3 separate regions of the Homo sapiens genome follow, and all the other regions are linked to region 1. The links are contacts of gene promoters, found by promoter capture Hi-C in blood cells and fetal thymus (Javierre and others, 2016). All regions are on one chromosome and are shown on one strand. The core of a region is centred on a gene start or on the middle of the fragment in contact, and the rest is flanking DNA. Distances in the headings are between cores, read along the strand shown. Region 1 holds the start of KLF13 (KLF transcription factor 13). Region 2 overlaps LINC02352 (long intergenic non-protein coding RNA 2352). Region 3 has its middle 95 kb from the start of KLF13.

What was found. Contacts are between HindIII fragments. The CHiCAGO score rates a contact against its expected background, and 5 or more counts as called.
Region 2: a fragment that was not itself captured here is called in contact with the fragment with the promoter of KLF13 in region 1 in 16 of 17 cell types (non-activated CD4 T cells, total B cells, neutrophils and 13 more); the score reaches 16.8 in non-activated CD4 T cells.
Region 3: a contact is called between a fragment that was not itself captured here and the fragment with the promoter of KLF13 in region 1, in 1 of 17 cell types (total B cells). The highest score is 5.2, in total B cells.

The regions. Positions count from the first base shown.
Region 1 is chr15:31,323,923-31,328,655 of GRCh38, reverse strand. KLF13 (KLF transcription factor 13) reads right to left here and starts at 1,821. Exons shown (of 2, transcript NM_015995.4): 1 at 867-1,821. The coding sequence starts at 1,443. RefSeq lists an enhancer at 2,099-2,612 and a promoter at 1,640-2,696. The HindIII fragment of the contact is 12,301 bases long and covers 1-4,733 here.
Region 2 is chr15:31,221,863-31,226,595 of GRCh38, reverse strand. LINC02352 (long intergenic non-protein coding RNA 2352) reads right to left here. Exons shown (of 2, transcript NR_135834.1): 2 at 1,589-2,601. LINC03034 (long intergenic non-protein coding RNA 3034) reads left to right here. Exons shown (of 4, transcript NR_171016.1): 3 at 2,884-3,125; 4 at 3,260-3,829. Among named protein-coding and RNA genes, the nearest start is that of LINC03034, 6.6 kb to the left of the region's middle. RefSeq lists an enhancer at 290-862. The HindIII fragment of the contact is 3,232 bases long and covers 559-3,790 here.
Region 3 is chr15:31,419,208-31,423,940 of GRCh38, reverse strand. It overlaps a transcript of KLF13 not described here and the pseudogene UBE2CP4. Among named protein-coding and RNA genes, the nearest start is that of KLF13, 95 kb to the right of the region's middle. The HindIII fragment of the contact is 5,670 bases long and covers 1-4,733 here.

The sequences.
Region 1 (4,733 bases), core at 572-3,071:
ATCCCCAGGCTGGAGGCTCAGCGCCCGCCCTGGTGCAGGTGCCGCCCGCCCCGCACCGGCCCAGGGCAGGTGAGAGGTGGGCAGGCGAGAGGGCAGCACGGAGGATGGGCAGCGGCCAGGGCATTCCTTTCCGGAGAGAGCCTCGAGGCCGAGGAGCCTAGGGCCGGGCGCGCCCCCGCCGGGCCGGATGGGCGGGGGCTCCCACAAAGAGCCGCAGGCGGGGAGCGGGACCCGGGACCGCCCCCCGCATCGCCAAGCGCCGCCGCTGACTTTGGTTACGACAAATTAAACCTTAGAGCGCTGGAAAAATTACAGGAAGAAGAGAGCGAAGAATGTGCCGAGTGGCGAAGGAAACCTTGTCCCTGCGTGAACTTCGCCCGCCGCGCGCCGGGGCCGGCCCCTCCCCTCCTGAGCGCGCGCCCGGGCAGCGGGGGAGGAAACGAGGAGGGACCCCGGAGAGCGTCCCCTGCCCCCGCTCCGGGCGCCCCACCGTCACGAGTGCCGCCTGCGGTCCACACCCAGGCCGCCCGCACCTGCCCGCGCCGCCTCCCGGCCGGGAGGGGTCCCCGCCCCCAGCCCAGATGACTATATCCGCCCCCGCGGCCCCACCCGAGCGCGCCCGGGGAGGGGGCGTGCCCGGCGGGGGCGCGGTCGCCTGGCGGGCGCCGGCTCCGAGAGCCAAGACCCGCCTCGCGCGACGCGCGGGGCCAGCCGCGGGTCGGAGCGGCAGGGGAAGGGGCGAGGCCCCGGGCGTTCCGGCCCGCCCGGCCCCCACCTCGCGCCCCATCGGGGACTCCGGGGGCGTGGTCGGGCAGCTCGCGCCGACCCCGTCCGCGCGATCCGGGCGCCCGCGCCGCCCCACTGACCTGTGTGAGTTCTCAGGTGCGCCTTGAGGTGCGAAGATTTCCCGTAAACTTTCTCGCAGCCCGCGTAGTGGCACTTGTGCTTCCTCTGCGGGGACTCGAGGTCGGCGCGACTTCGGCCCCGCCGGACCCTTTGTCTGAGGCCGGGCTCGCCGCTCCCCGCGGGCCCCGGCTCCCGCTCGGGCTCCAGCCCCGCCTCGGGCTCCGGCTCGCTCCACGCCGGGCTGGGGGGCGCGGCCGCCGCGCCTTCGGCGCCGGGGGAGGTGGGCTCGGGGGCGGGCGGCGGCAGGCGGCAGGGGGTCCTCGCCTTCCGGGCCGCGGCGCCCTCCCTGCGCTCCGCCGGGGCGGGCGCCGGCGCTTGCTGGTTGAGGTCCGCTAGGATCCGCGCCACCACGAAGAGCGAGGCGCTGTCCTTACCGTCGCGGCGCTCCTCGACGCGGGGCAGCGTGGGGGTGGCGGCCACGGCCGCGCCCTCGGGCCGGGACTCCGGCCCCTCCCGCGGCCCGTGCACGACCGCGCGGCTCGACATGGACACGAGGCACTCGGCGGCGAAGTGGTCCACATAGGCGGCGGCTGCCATGCTGCGGGCTGGGGCCGGCGGCGGTGCTCTTGCTGCGAGTCGTCAGCCGCGCATCCGCACCCACGGCCTCGGGAGAGCGGGCGGGGGGCGGGGGCGCGGCGCGCCCTCTCCTCGGGCTGGGCTGGGCTGGGCTGGGCGCGCAGCCGCCTGTGCCGTCACCCGCGCGGCTCCGCGTCTGCGAGGCGCCGGCCCGGCCGGGCACCGAAGAGTGAGCGCATGGGGCGCGCGGGCGACTGGGGTCCCCGCGCGGCGTCAGGGGCGGCCGGTTCTAAGGATGCCGAGCGGCAACGTTAGGGACCACCTCGCCAAGTCGCGGCCGCAGCTTCGCCGCGCATTGTGGCAGGCGGGACAGCTGCCGTGCGCGCCGCGGCTCCGTGTGGGCGGCCCGGCCCCGGGGGTGGGCGGGGCCGGGGCCACATCTGGACCCGACGTCAGCCCCCAGCCACATCCTGGCGGCGCAGGTTACAGGCGGCGGCGGCTGCGGGGAGCTGCGCGCGCGGAGGGGGCGGGGACCCCAGAGCGCGCACCGGCGGAACGGAGCGGTCGCGTGCCCGCGCCTGGGCAAGGGGGCGTGACCGAGGGCCGGGACAGACGCCATTGGTCCGTGAGTGCACGGCCAGGCCAATCCGAGCCGTTAGAGGGGCGTGCCCGGTCCCGGGCCCTGCGCGCGCCAGTGGGCGTGTCCCCTGGGCCGGTGGGAGGAGGGGCGGAAACTGGAGCGGGGCGCGCTGACGCATGACGTCCGGGGGCGGCGGGCCGGGTAGTCGCGGCGCGGAGCGGCTGCTTGTACCCCCCGCGGCGGGGACACAGCGAGCACTTCTCTGCCGGAGCTTTTATGTGGTGACAGCCTTGGCCCCCGGCATGGAGGGGAGCGGTTTCTGGAGGGCGCCATTTGTTCCTCCCGCGATGGGCGCCGGCGGGGAGGCGTGTCTGCCCGGCCGGGCGCGGGGCTGCCTAGGGGCGGAACGCACTCGCGCCGCGCCCTCCGCCGCCGGCTTGCCGGGTGGCCGCGCCTAGAGCCTCAGGCCGCTCGCCCTCCCCACGCCCCTGCCTTGCAGAGCTCCGGGAGTCCGGGCGGGGCAGCTCCCGCGGGAGGGACAGACTCGGGCTCGTTCCTGGGGTCCGGGGTGCGGCCGCGCTGCCCTTCAGCTCGGGTCAGCCCGAGCAGGACTGGCCTCGGCTGGCGGTGAGCCTGGCAGCCCGGGTGGCGCGCCCACCGCGGCCTGTGCCTCCAGAAGCGAACTACGTGCCAGGGCGGCCGGCGCCGCTGCTGAGGGAACGCGGGGCCCCTTCCTCCCCATCCCGCCGCAGGCCCGCTGCCAACTCTTCTAGGCTGCCCCTCTCCCACCGCGGTCGGGGGGGCTTCAAACGCCACCAGCTGCGAGGACCCCGCCCACCGCGCCCCACCCGCCCGCTGTCTGGGCCTCCCGGAGGAAATGCTCGGCTGCGCCCAGCCCGCGCCTCCCAGCCCGGGCTGGGCCACCTTGCCCTTGACTCTCACGGTAACCCCTACCCCAGCCCGCGGCCCCAGCCATTCTCCAGGCCTGGGCCGTCCTCGGAGACGCCGGTGAATAACTTCCCACCGCCGCGGAACCGGGCTCAGCAAACCCCCTACTGCCTCGCCCCGTTGCATTGTGCTTAATGGACGTTCGAAGGAGTCAGCCACCCTTGCTGTGTTCTGAGAGGAGCCTGGAGAATGAAGGAGCCCGGGCACTCACCCTCAGTGGACCCTCGCAGTGGGAGGGGGGTGTCATTCTTCTCTCAGAATTAAGGTTAATAGCCGAGTTCGAGTTCTCACCAAATTAATTTGGGGTTGGAGCTCAGTAAGACTGGTTTTCAGGTAACCGACGAGGGACCGAAACGGCCATTCTGGGTTGCGTGTTACGGTGAACAGCAAACTGCATGGATGTTTGAGCACCCTCAGTATCTGTAACTAAAACCCTGAAATGCGGTCTCGCTGATTGAGTTGCTACCCTCTGGGGAGACTAAAGGTGCTGGACTGGGTCTGGTCCCTTTAGGAGGGTCTGTGCTTGGTAGAAAGTAATCGTGTTTCTTCCAGGCAGATTGTGTTGATGACATTTAATAAGAGACGTGTGTCCTGACCAAGTAATGATTCGGAATGTTCCTCTATTCCCACCACATGTCACAATTAGTCACTTCTTAAGGAAGGAGTGGTCCTACACCAGCTTATCAGCCACCCATACCCTCCTGGCCCCTTTCCAGCCAGCAGAATTCTCCCCAATCTTCAAGGTGCCACGTCTCCCCACTGGGTCACCCCAGCCGGCATACACAATGGTAGGCCGTCTAGAGTCTGCACTATTCTAGTATTAGGCTACTACAGCCATGAACAAAACAGGCCTGCCTTGGGTGAGGGGATGCCCTACGTGGTCAAGGGTCCTCTGCATTGATGCACCCCCCTAAGAGTTTTCCAAGAATGTGGGTCCCAAAGAATTTTGACTGTGCTCTGTGGCATTCTGTATAGAAAACTGAGCTCCTTGGCTGGTTTCTCAAAAATCCACTCATTTGATGATTGTCGTGGTGTTCACTGACTTTATCCCAAACCTACATGGAAGGGTCTTCCGGACAGACAGCTCTTCCCCAAAGAAAATCTCCTCTTAGCTAAGAGTCCATGTTTTCTTTTCTAAGTAAGATTTTGACAGAGATGGCATATGTATATGTGAGGGCTGGGTCGTCTCGTTTCAAATGGAAGCAACAGAAAAGCAGAGCAGGTGTGTCTGGGGCGTATAGAGACTGAAGGCTGAAAGGGTGGTTGAGTTTCTGGGTAAAGTTGGTGGATGGTTAGTATGTATTGACTTTAACTTCCTTCTGGAGCATTTGTTAGAAGGCAGAAATCCACAAAGACAGGGAGAACAAGAGAGGAAGTAACAGCAACGCAGTTCTTGAAGCTAAAATACTTAGCAGATCCAAGAAAATGAAACCCTGAGATAGTAGCTAGGAAGGAAAGCTAAGAACATACTCCATGGAATCCCCCAGAAGGTTCACTAATGGGTGGCACTACGTACCTCTGAATGTGAGAGTAAACGGGGGTGAAAATAAGATTGGCAGAACGTCAGCTTGAGGAGCACTCAGATGCCCATATCTGCACCCCAATTTCATGCAGCCTGACAACTGCCCCTTCCTTGTTCTGACGAAAGGCTGGATATTTATGACCTGAAAAAACTAAAAGGCAGCGTCTTGGGTAGGTGGACACCAGGCACAATTAAGGACAGAGGTACGGTAATAGGATCAGGGGATTAAATACACACATGGATACTGGATGCTGAGACCCA
Region 2 (4,733 bases), core at 925-3,424, 100 kb after region 1:
CATAAAGCCACATCCCCAGTATAGTAAAAGTCACCACCTGGAAGGCTGTCTGGCCGCCAGCTTTGCACCCCATGATCAGGCCACTATGCCTGAGTGGAATTGTCTCCTAAACACAGCCCCACTGAAAGGTGAAGCCAGCGGGACTTCCTGGGTCCACTGGGAAGTTGGAGAACTTTTCTGTCTTACAAGAGGATTGTAAAACGAACCAATCAGCACTCCGTAGCTAGGATTGTAAAACGCACCAATCAGTGCTCTGTAGCTAGCAAGGGATTGTAAAATGCACCAATCAGTGCTGTGTAAAAACTCACCGATCAGTGCTCTGTAGCTAGCAAGAGATTTGTAAAACACACCAATCAGCGCTCTGTGAAATGGACCAATCAGCAGGATTCTAAAAGTAACCAATCGCAGGGAGGATTGAGAAAAGGGCATTCTGATAGGACAGGAACAGGACATGGGCGGGGACAAATAAGAGAATAAAAGCTGCCTCCCCCCCAACCCTTCTCCACACGGAGCCAGCAGAGGCAACCTGCTGGGGTCCTCTTCCGTGGTGGGGAAGCTTTGTTCTTTTGCTCTTCACAATAGCTCTTACTGCTGCTCACCCTTTGGGTCCTTGTCTTCTTTGAGAGCTGTAACACCAGGAAGGTCTGGGGCTCCATTCTCAAAATCAGCAAGACCACAATCCCACTGGAAGGAACCAACTCCGGACCCACCACTCCCTCCTATTACAGGCCCACTGCAGGTGCTTTGCTGAGTCTAGTAGAGAATCCTGCCTGAGCCCCGGCCAAGAGTGGGAGCCAGCCAGGAGCGGGGGAGGGAAGGCAAGTGCGAGGGGGAATGGCCCGTGCAAAAAGATCCCCAGCAGGGCACAGCAGGCAACTGAGGACCAAGTCCAGCTGTGCCTACCGAGATCCACTGTGGAGACCATGATGCAGTACACAGAGCACATGGTCCCAGGCAAAACCGAGCAAAATAGAGGACTCCCTGTGCATACCCACCGGCGAGCTGCACCTCACACCGGAAGAGGGAGAGCTTGGCGACCTTTTGCGGCGTGCCAGCCCCTCAGGGAAGGCCGGGTTGTGTCACCTGTCGGGCTCAGGCTCCAGTTCTGACTTAAAAACTCTGATGCTCATGCCTGTAATCCCAGCAGTTTGGGAGGCAGAGGCCCACGGATCACGAGGTCAGGAGTTTGAGAGGCACCTAGCCAACAGGGTAAAACCCCGTCTCTACCAAAAATACAAAAATTAGCCGGGCGTGGCGGGCACCTGTAATCCCAGCTACTCCGGGAGGCTGAGGCAGGAGAATCGCTTGAAACCAGAAAGCGGAGGTTACAGTGAACCAAGATCACGCCACTGCACTCCAGCCTGGGGGAAAGAGTGAGACTCCATCTCAAACAACAACAACAAAAAACTCTGAGGCTGTTTTCTCATCTGTAGAATGGGGTGACACTACGGCAGCCCCTGACACTGTGAACCCTAACATCAGCAAGCACTTCTCAGTGGGTGTGTTAGAGGAAAGTGGTCCCGATCCAGACCCCAAGAGATGGTTCTTGGATTTTAGGCAAGAAAGAATTCAGGGCGAGTCCACAGAATAAAGTGAAAGTAAGTTTATTAGGAAAGTAAAGGGGTAAAAGAACGGCTACTCCATAGACAGAGCAGCCCCAAGGGCTGTGGGTTGCCCATTTTTATGGTTATTTCTTGATGATATGCTAAACAGGAGGTGGATTATTCATGCTTCCTCTTTTCAGACCATATAGGGTAACTTCCTGATGTTGCCATGGCATTTGTAAACTGTCATGGTGCTGGTGGGAGTGTAGCAGTGAGGACCACCAGAGGACACATCTTGTTGCCATTTTGGGTTTTAGCCAGCTTATTTACTGCAGCCTGTTTCATCAGCAAGGTCTTTATGACCTGTATCTTGTGCCGACCTCGTATCTCATCCTGTGACTTAGAATGCCTTAACCATCTGGGAATGCAGCCCAGTAGGTCTTAGCCTTATTTTACCGGCCCCTATTCGAAATGGAGTTGCTCTGGTTCAAATGCCTCGGACAGGTGCGGAGGGAGGGTGGTGAGTGGAGCCCACCCACCACCAAGTCACACGCACCCACATTCCTTCTGAATCGTATTTTCTAGGCATCTTACTAATATAATCCCCACAACAACGAGCTGCAGAAGGTTGTTTCTCTCACAGATTTCTGCATATTCTCTGTACTTGTAGAATTTGGGGGAACAAGTCAAGTTACACAAGCTAATCCCTGAAACGTGAGCCCCACGGCTCCTCAGCCCTCTCCCAGAGCCGGTGGCCTGCGTGCCAGGTCCCCGACAAATGCTGGCTCCATGGCAGCTGCGATGACTTCCCTCGAGAAGTGCCAGTCCGCAGGGCAATCTCGAGGTCCTCGTGCGGGTGACCAGCTGCGGCACGGCCAGCACGGCACAGGGAGGGAGGGGCTGTGCTGACCCTCAGGTGTCTCGCGGGGGCCCTTGGCGGTCCCAGCAGAGGGTTTGCCCGTGAGAAGGTCTGGAAGTGCTGCTTCTTACAGGGCTGCCTTCAATTATTTCAGCTGCTCCGAGGTATTTCAAAGTCAGACCAAATAAACATTTGTATCTAAAAAAGGCGAAACAGGGTCATTTGAAATGGAGAAGAAAGCCTTTCCCGTATCCGGAGGGTGTGGCCCGACATTCCGGAGCAGCGGCAAGGGTTCTCTCTGGTTCTGTGCCTGTGCCAGGGCACCTACCCCAGCCCCTGCTTCAGGAGGGAAGTTATTTTCTTTTAAATCAAATGTGTGGCGACCTAAGTTTCCTTTCCCTGATTTGCTCCGTGGTCACCCTGGGCCCCCTGCTGCTGTCAGGTCAACATCTTTAAAGGGCTCTCTGTGCTTTTCCTAAGAAGGGGACCACAACAGACTCGACAGGATCCACCGGTTGGGCCCAAGGCAGGAGGAAGGGCGGCGCCCCCAAACTCCCAGGACGCCTGCAGCACCCCCCACGCGCCGCTCTCCGCCTCTGGGGAGCATCCTGCCACCCCCCGACACACACACCCCGGCTACATCCCGCCTTCTCACGCTTGGTCAGGCGCTCTGGAGATGTCGGAGATCCAGGCTTTTCCTAAAGAGTCAGGATTGGAAGGCGGTGAGGGCATCAGGTTTTTTTTCTTCTCTTTTCTTCTAGCAATTACGCCCCCGTGGCTAAATTAAACTCCCATTGGCTAAATTAGGCTCGAAGAGAGGGGCACCTGCTGCTAAGCTGTGTATGTTGTCCCCTAGGACTCCCACCGTTTGCTGAGCTCCACATGACAACAGCAGACGACAGGCCGCACTGATCCCACCTGGCTTACAGGTGCTGTCACACAGGTACGCCTTCTTGTGAATCATCAGTCACCATTTGCCCCTCGCAGCAACCCTGTCTTGGAGGAAGGTCCTTGCCGACACCCGCCTCTCCCCACCCTTAGGCTCCCTTGCTCCTTCATTCAACCATTGTTTACATGTCGTTCAGGACTGCTGACTAAACACTTTCAAGCACAGTGGACCCTTGAACAACGCAGGTTCAAACTGTGCAGGTCCACCCACAGGGATGTTTTTCAATCAGAGTTATACCAAGTGTCCCTGCCTCTCCTGCCTCCCTTCCCACTTCCTCCATGTCTTCCTCTCTGCCACCCTGAGGCAGCAAGACCAGCCCCTCCTCCTCAGCCACTCAACATGAAGACAACGAGGATGAAGACTTCTATGATAATCCACTTCCACTTAGTAAATGCTTTCTCTTATGATATTCTTAATGACATTTTATTTTCCCAAGCTTAGTTTATTGTAAGAATACAGTATAAATACACATACAAAGTACGTGTTAACTGATTTTTTAATGTTACCAGTAAGGCTTCCAGTTAACAGTAGGCTATTTATTAGTTAAGTTTGGAGGGAGCCTGAAGTTATACAAGCTCTGACTGCGTGAGGGGTTGGCTCTCCAACCCTCACATTGTTCAAGGCTCAACTGCACCTCTCCTACCTATCTCCCCCACCCTCTGATGTAGTAGGATAAATATAAAAACACTTAGAAATCCTTGAAAACCAGGAAAAATGCCACCAACAGACTAGAACATTGGAGAATTTCTGGAAGATATAAAGCGGAGGAGATCAGATTCGTGGTGAAACGCAATAGAGCCAATGGCCTGCAGGTGGGAGACCATTTCAAGTCTGGAAATGGGGTAGGGTGGGGGCAGTGGAGAAGGAATGAGTCATGGAGCTTGGATACGGTAATCACACAAACGGCTACCCAGGTGGCTGAGGCAGTGTCCTGCCTGTCCCCAGGGTAAAGTCTGAGTGCAGCATTCAGACTGAAGACAAAGATGCACCGGGAGCCTCCAGAGCCAACACTGGCCCAAAGAGAGAAGCAGGGGCCCGCCCAGGTGACTGCCAGGCACTGTCAGCCACACTGACAGGGAGAGCGGCCCAGATGAGAGGCCCAGGAAGGCACTCTGCCTTTGCAACGTCCTGGCCTGTCTCCATGACCACAGGTGCCCAGTGGTGCCAGGGTTGCCAGACAGTGGTGGTTTAGTTGTGTGCAAGAACTACTCTGCACAGCAAGAATGATTGGTTGAGACTGACAGATCGCAAACACACTGCATTCAGGAACCCTTCACCCTCTCTTAGAAATGGCTGAGGGTCTCAGCGGGCTTTCATTCATATGAGTTTATCTATCAATATTTACGGTAGTAGAAGTTCAAGTGAAAAATAAATAAATATT
Region 3 (4,733 bases), core at 837-3,336, 95 kb before region 1:
TCTCTCGTGATTTCTTCATTGATCTATTAGTTGTTCAAGAGTGTATTGTTTAATTTCCCCATATTTGTGATCTACCCGTTTTCCTTTTGCTATTGATTTCTAGTTTTATTCCAACAAAATCAGAAAAGACAGTTGGTATGATTTCAATTTTCTTAAATTTAAGATTTGTTTTGTGGCCTAACATGTGATCTATCCTGAAGAATGTTCCATGTGAGTTTGAGAGAACATTTATTCTGTAGTTCTTAGAGTATTCTGTATATGTCTGTAGGTCCAACTGGTCTATAATGTTGTTCAAGTTCCTTTTTTTTGAGATGGAATCTCACTCTTGTCACCCAGGCTGGAGTGCAATGGCACAATCTTGGCTCACTGCAACCTCCGCTTCCTGGGTTCAAGCCATTCTCCTGCCTCAGCCTCCTGAGTAGCTGGGATTACAGGCACCCACCACCACACCCGGCTAATTTTTGTATTTTTAGTAGAGACGGGGTTTCACCATATTGGCCAGCCTGGTCTCGAACTCCTGACCTCACGTGATCCACCCACCTCAGCCTCCCAAAGCGCTGGGATTACAGACGTGAGCCACAGCACCCGGCCCAAGTTATCTGTTTCTTTATTAATCTTCTGTCTGGTTATTCTATGCATTATTGAAAGCAAGGTATTAAAATCTCCTTCTATTACTGTGTTACTGCCTATTTGTCCCTTCAATTCTTTCAACATTTGCTTCATATATTTGAGTGAGCTACTGATATATATATATACGTATATATGTATATATATACATATATATACGTATATATACGTATACGTATACGTATATATACGTATATATACGTATACGTATACGTATATATACGTATATATATGTAATTGTTATATGACTGGAAAATTGATTCTTGCTTTTTTTTATTTGAGAAGGAGTCTCACTCTCACCCAGGCTGGAGTGCAGTGGCGTGATCTCAGCTCACTGCAACCTCTGTCTCCCAGGTTCAAGTGATTCTCCTGCCTCAGCCCCCTGAGTAGCTGGGACTACAGGTGTCCACCACCAAGCCCAGCTAATTTTTTTTGTATTTTTGTAGAGACAGGGTTTTGCCATGTTGGCCAGGCTGGTCTCAAACTCCTGTCCACAGGTGATCAGCCCACCTCAGCCTCCCAAAATGCTGAGATTATAGGCCTGAGCCACTGCGCCCAGCTGAAAATTGATTCTTTTATTGTTATATGTTCATTTTTGTCTCTTGTGACAGTTTTTGTCTTAGAGTCTATTTTGTCTGATATAAATTGGCCAGCACTGCTCTCTTTTGGTTGCAATTTGCATGTAATACCTTTTTCCATTCTTTCACTTGCAGCCTGATATGGTTTGGCTCTGTGTCCCCATCCAGATCTCACCTTGAATTGTAATAATCCCCACATGTCAAGGGCAGGGTAGGTGGAGGTAATTTGATCATGGGGATGGTTTCCCCCATATTCTCATGGTAATGAGTGAGTCTTAGGAGATCTGATGGTTTTATAAGCATCTACCGTTTCCCCTGCTTGCATTCACTCTGTCCTGCTACCCTGAAAAGAAGGTGCCTGCTTCTCCTTTGCCTTTCACCGTGATTGTAAGTTTCCCGAGGTCTCTCCAGCTATGAAGAACTATGAGTCAATTAAACCTCTTTCCTTTATAAATTACCCAGTCTTGGGTATTTCTTCATAACACTGTGAGAATGGACTAATACACAGCCTATATGTATCTTTGTATCTAAGGTGAGTGGGTCTTGAGGTTCTGAAAAATCTATTGAACCACTCTATTTCTTTTTTCTTTTTTTTTTTTTTTTGTTTGTTTGTTTGTTTTTGAGATGGAGTCTTGCTCTGTCACCCAGATTGGAGTGCAGTGGCATGGTCTCAGCTCACTGCAACCTCCGCCTCCCAGGTTCAAGCTATTCTCCTGCCTCAGCCTCCTGAGTAGCTGGGATTACAGGTGCACGCCACCATGCCCTGCTAATTTTTTATATTTTTGGTAGAGATGGGGTTTCATCATGTTGGCCAGGCTGGTCTCGAACTCCTGACCTCAGGTGATCTGCCCGTCCTGGCCTCCCAAAATGCTGGCAATACATGTGTGAGCCACCGCGCTCGGCCAGCCCTCTATTTCTTTTTATTTACACATATAAAAATTACTGACAGGAAAGGACATACTTTGCCATTTTGTTGATTGTTTTTTGTATACTTTGCAGTTATTTTGTCCCTTTTCCTTTCTTGCTGCCTTTCATTAGGTTTTGTTAATTTTTTTTTAGTGACAAGTTTGATTCCTTTCTCATTTTCTTCTGTATATCTTCTACAGATATTTCCTTTGTGATTACCATGGGGATTAAGTATAATACCTTATCATTATAGCCATTTATTTTAAGCTGACAAAAACTTAATATCAATTACATAAAAAATTTTACATCTCCCCTACTTTATGTTATTTATTTCACAAATTGCATATTTTTATATTTTATGTTCATTAACAAAGTTTGATAATTATAGTTCTATTTATACTTTTTCAAATTTTATACCAGGATTAAATGTGATTTATGTACCACCATTAGAATATTATACAATTCTGTACTTTTCCATATACCTCCCTTTACTGAGTGCTTTATATTTTTTACGCCGTTGTGTTGCTGTCAAGTGTCCTTTTGTTTCAACTTGAAGAACTCCCTTTAGCATTTTTTTGTAAGGTAGATTTAGTGTGGATAAACACCTTCAGCTTTTATTTTTCTGGGAAGGTCTTTATTTCACCTTCATTTTTTTTTAATAACCAAAATGTATTTATTTAATATACATCACAATGGCTCAACCGAGGCTTAATTTAAAAGACAAAAACAAAACAAAAATAATACCACAGCTGAAGATACAGAGTCCTATACAGAAATCACAGACAGGACAGACCATCAAAGGAAAACTTAAAAAGGCAACACAAAGATAGGCAGGGAAGCCAGGCATGGTGGCTCATGCCTGTAATCCCAACACTTTGGGAGGCCAAGGCGGGCAGATCACCTGAGGTCAGGAGTTTGTGACCAGCCTGACCAACATGGTGAAACCTTGTCTCTACTAAAAATATCAAAATTAGCCGGGCATGGTGGCAGGTGCTTGTAATCCCAGCTACTCGGGAGGCTGAGGCACGAGAATCGTTTGAACCTGGGAGGTGGAGGTTGCAGTGAGCTGAGATCTCACCACTGCACTCCAGCCTGGGCAACAGAGCAAGACTCCATCTCAAAAAAAAAAAAAAAGAAAGAAAAAAAAAGGACAGTCTGGGCAGCCTGGGTCAGGGGTCCTGGCTGGTAACCTGCTTTGAATAGGTTTCTTGAAGGTAAAAGCTGTAGGGTTTTTCCAGAACTCAACAGCATGCATGTTCAAAGGGCTATCAATGTTGGGTTCTCCTAGCAGGCTCTGGATGGAGACCAGAATGGTCCTGATGCCATACAGTACAGACGACTTGTCTTTCCAGATATCCAGGCATATGTTACCCTGGGTGTCTATGTTGGGGTGGTAGCAGGATGTGAGGAACTTCACTGTGGGCTCATTGTAAGGGTAGCCACTGGGGAACTCTAGCAAGAGCTTATACCTCAGGTCTTCATACACTGTGCCAGCTGCTCCATGGATGGTCCCTACCCATTTGAAAAGGTTGTCTGATTCAAGGAAAGCAGAAATCCCTTTGTCACCAGATATCATGAGGGTCATCAGCTCCTGCTGTAGTCTTTTGCCCACAGGATTCTGGGCAGCACCCCCACTCAGCTCGGCTCTTTTATGGGTGGCGACGACACTAGTGGCTGCTGGGTTATGGTCTTGGGAGACCACTTGGCTGCCTTCTCCTTCATTTTTGAAGAACAGTTTTGTTGGTTATAATATTCTTGGTTGACAAAAGGTTTTTTTCTTCCAGCACTTTGAATATAACATCTCACTCCTTTCCAGCCTATAATGTTTCTGCTGAGAAATCAGCTGATAATCTTACAGTAGCTCCCTTGTACATACAAGTGGCTTTTCTCTTGCTATTTTCAAGACTCTCTCTTTATCCTTGACTTCTGATACATCAAACTGTCCTTGATAGTTTGATTACAATATGTCTCAGTGTGGGCATCTTTGGGTTCTTCTTTGTCAGCATCCTTCGAGCTTCTAGAATTTGGATGTCCATTTTCTTCCTTAGATTTGGAAGTTTGGGCCATTATTTCTTCAAATAAGCTCTCTGCCCTTTGCTCTCTTTCTTCTTTTTAACTCCTATAACATGTATATTGATAGGCTTGATGATTTTTCATAAGTCCCTTATGCTTTCTTCACTTTTACTAATCCTTTATTCTTTTTGTTCCTGTGACTTGATCATTTCAAATTATCTGTCTTCAACTTCACTGATTCTTTGTTCTGCTTGATCAAGTTGTCTATTGAACCCTTCTAGCGAATTTTATAATTCAGTTATTGCAATCTTCGGCTCTGGAATTTCTATTTGTTTTTTCTTCCTTAGTTTTTGTCTCTTTGATCATATTGTCACTTTGTTAATGCATTGTTTTCTGGATTTGTTTTTAGTTGTCTATCTGTGTACTCTTGTATCACATTGAAGTTCTTTAAGACAATTATTTTGAATTCTTTTTCAGGTCATTAATTGATCTCTTTGTTTAAGGTCAGTTCCTGGATATTTATTTTGTTCCTTTGGGCCATTTTTCCCTATTTCTTCACATGCCTTATTATTTTTTACTGGGATTTGTGCTTTTGAAAAACAGGCAACT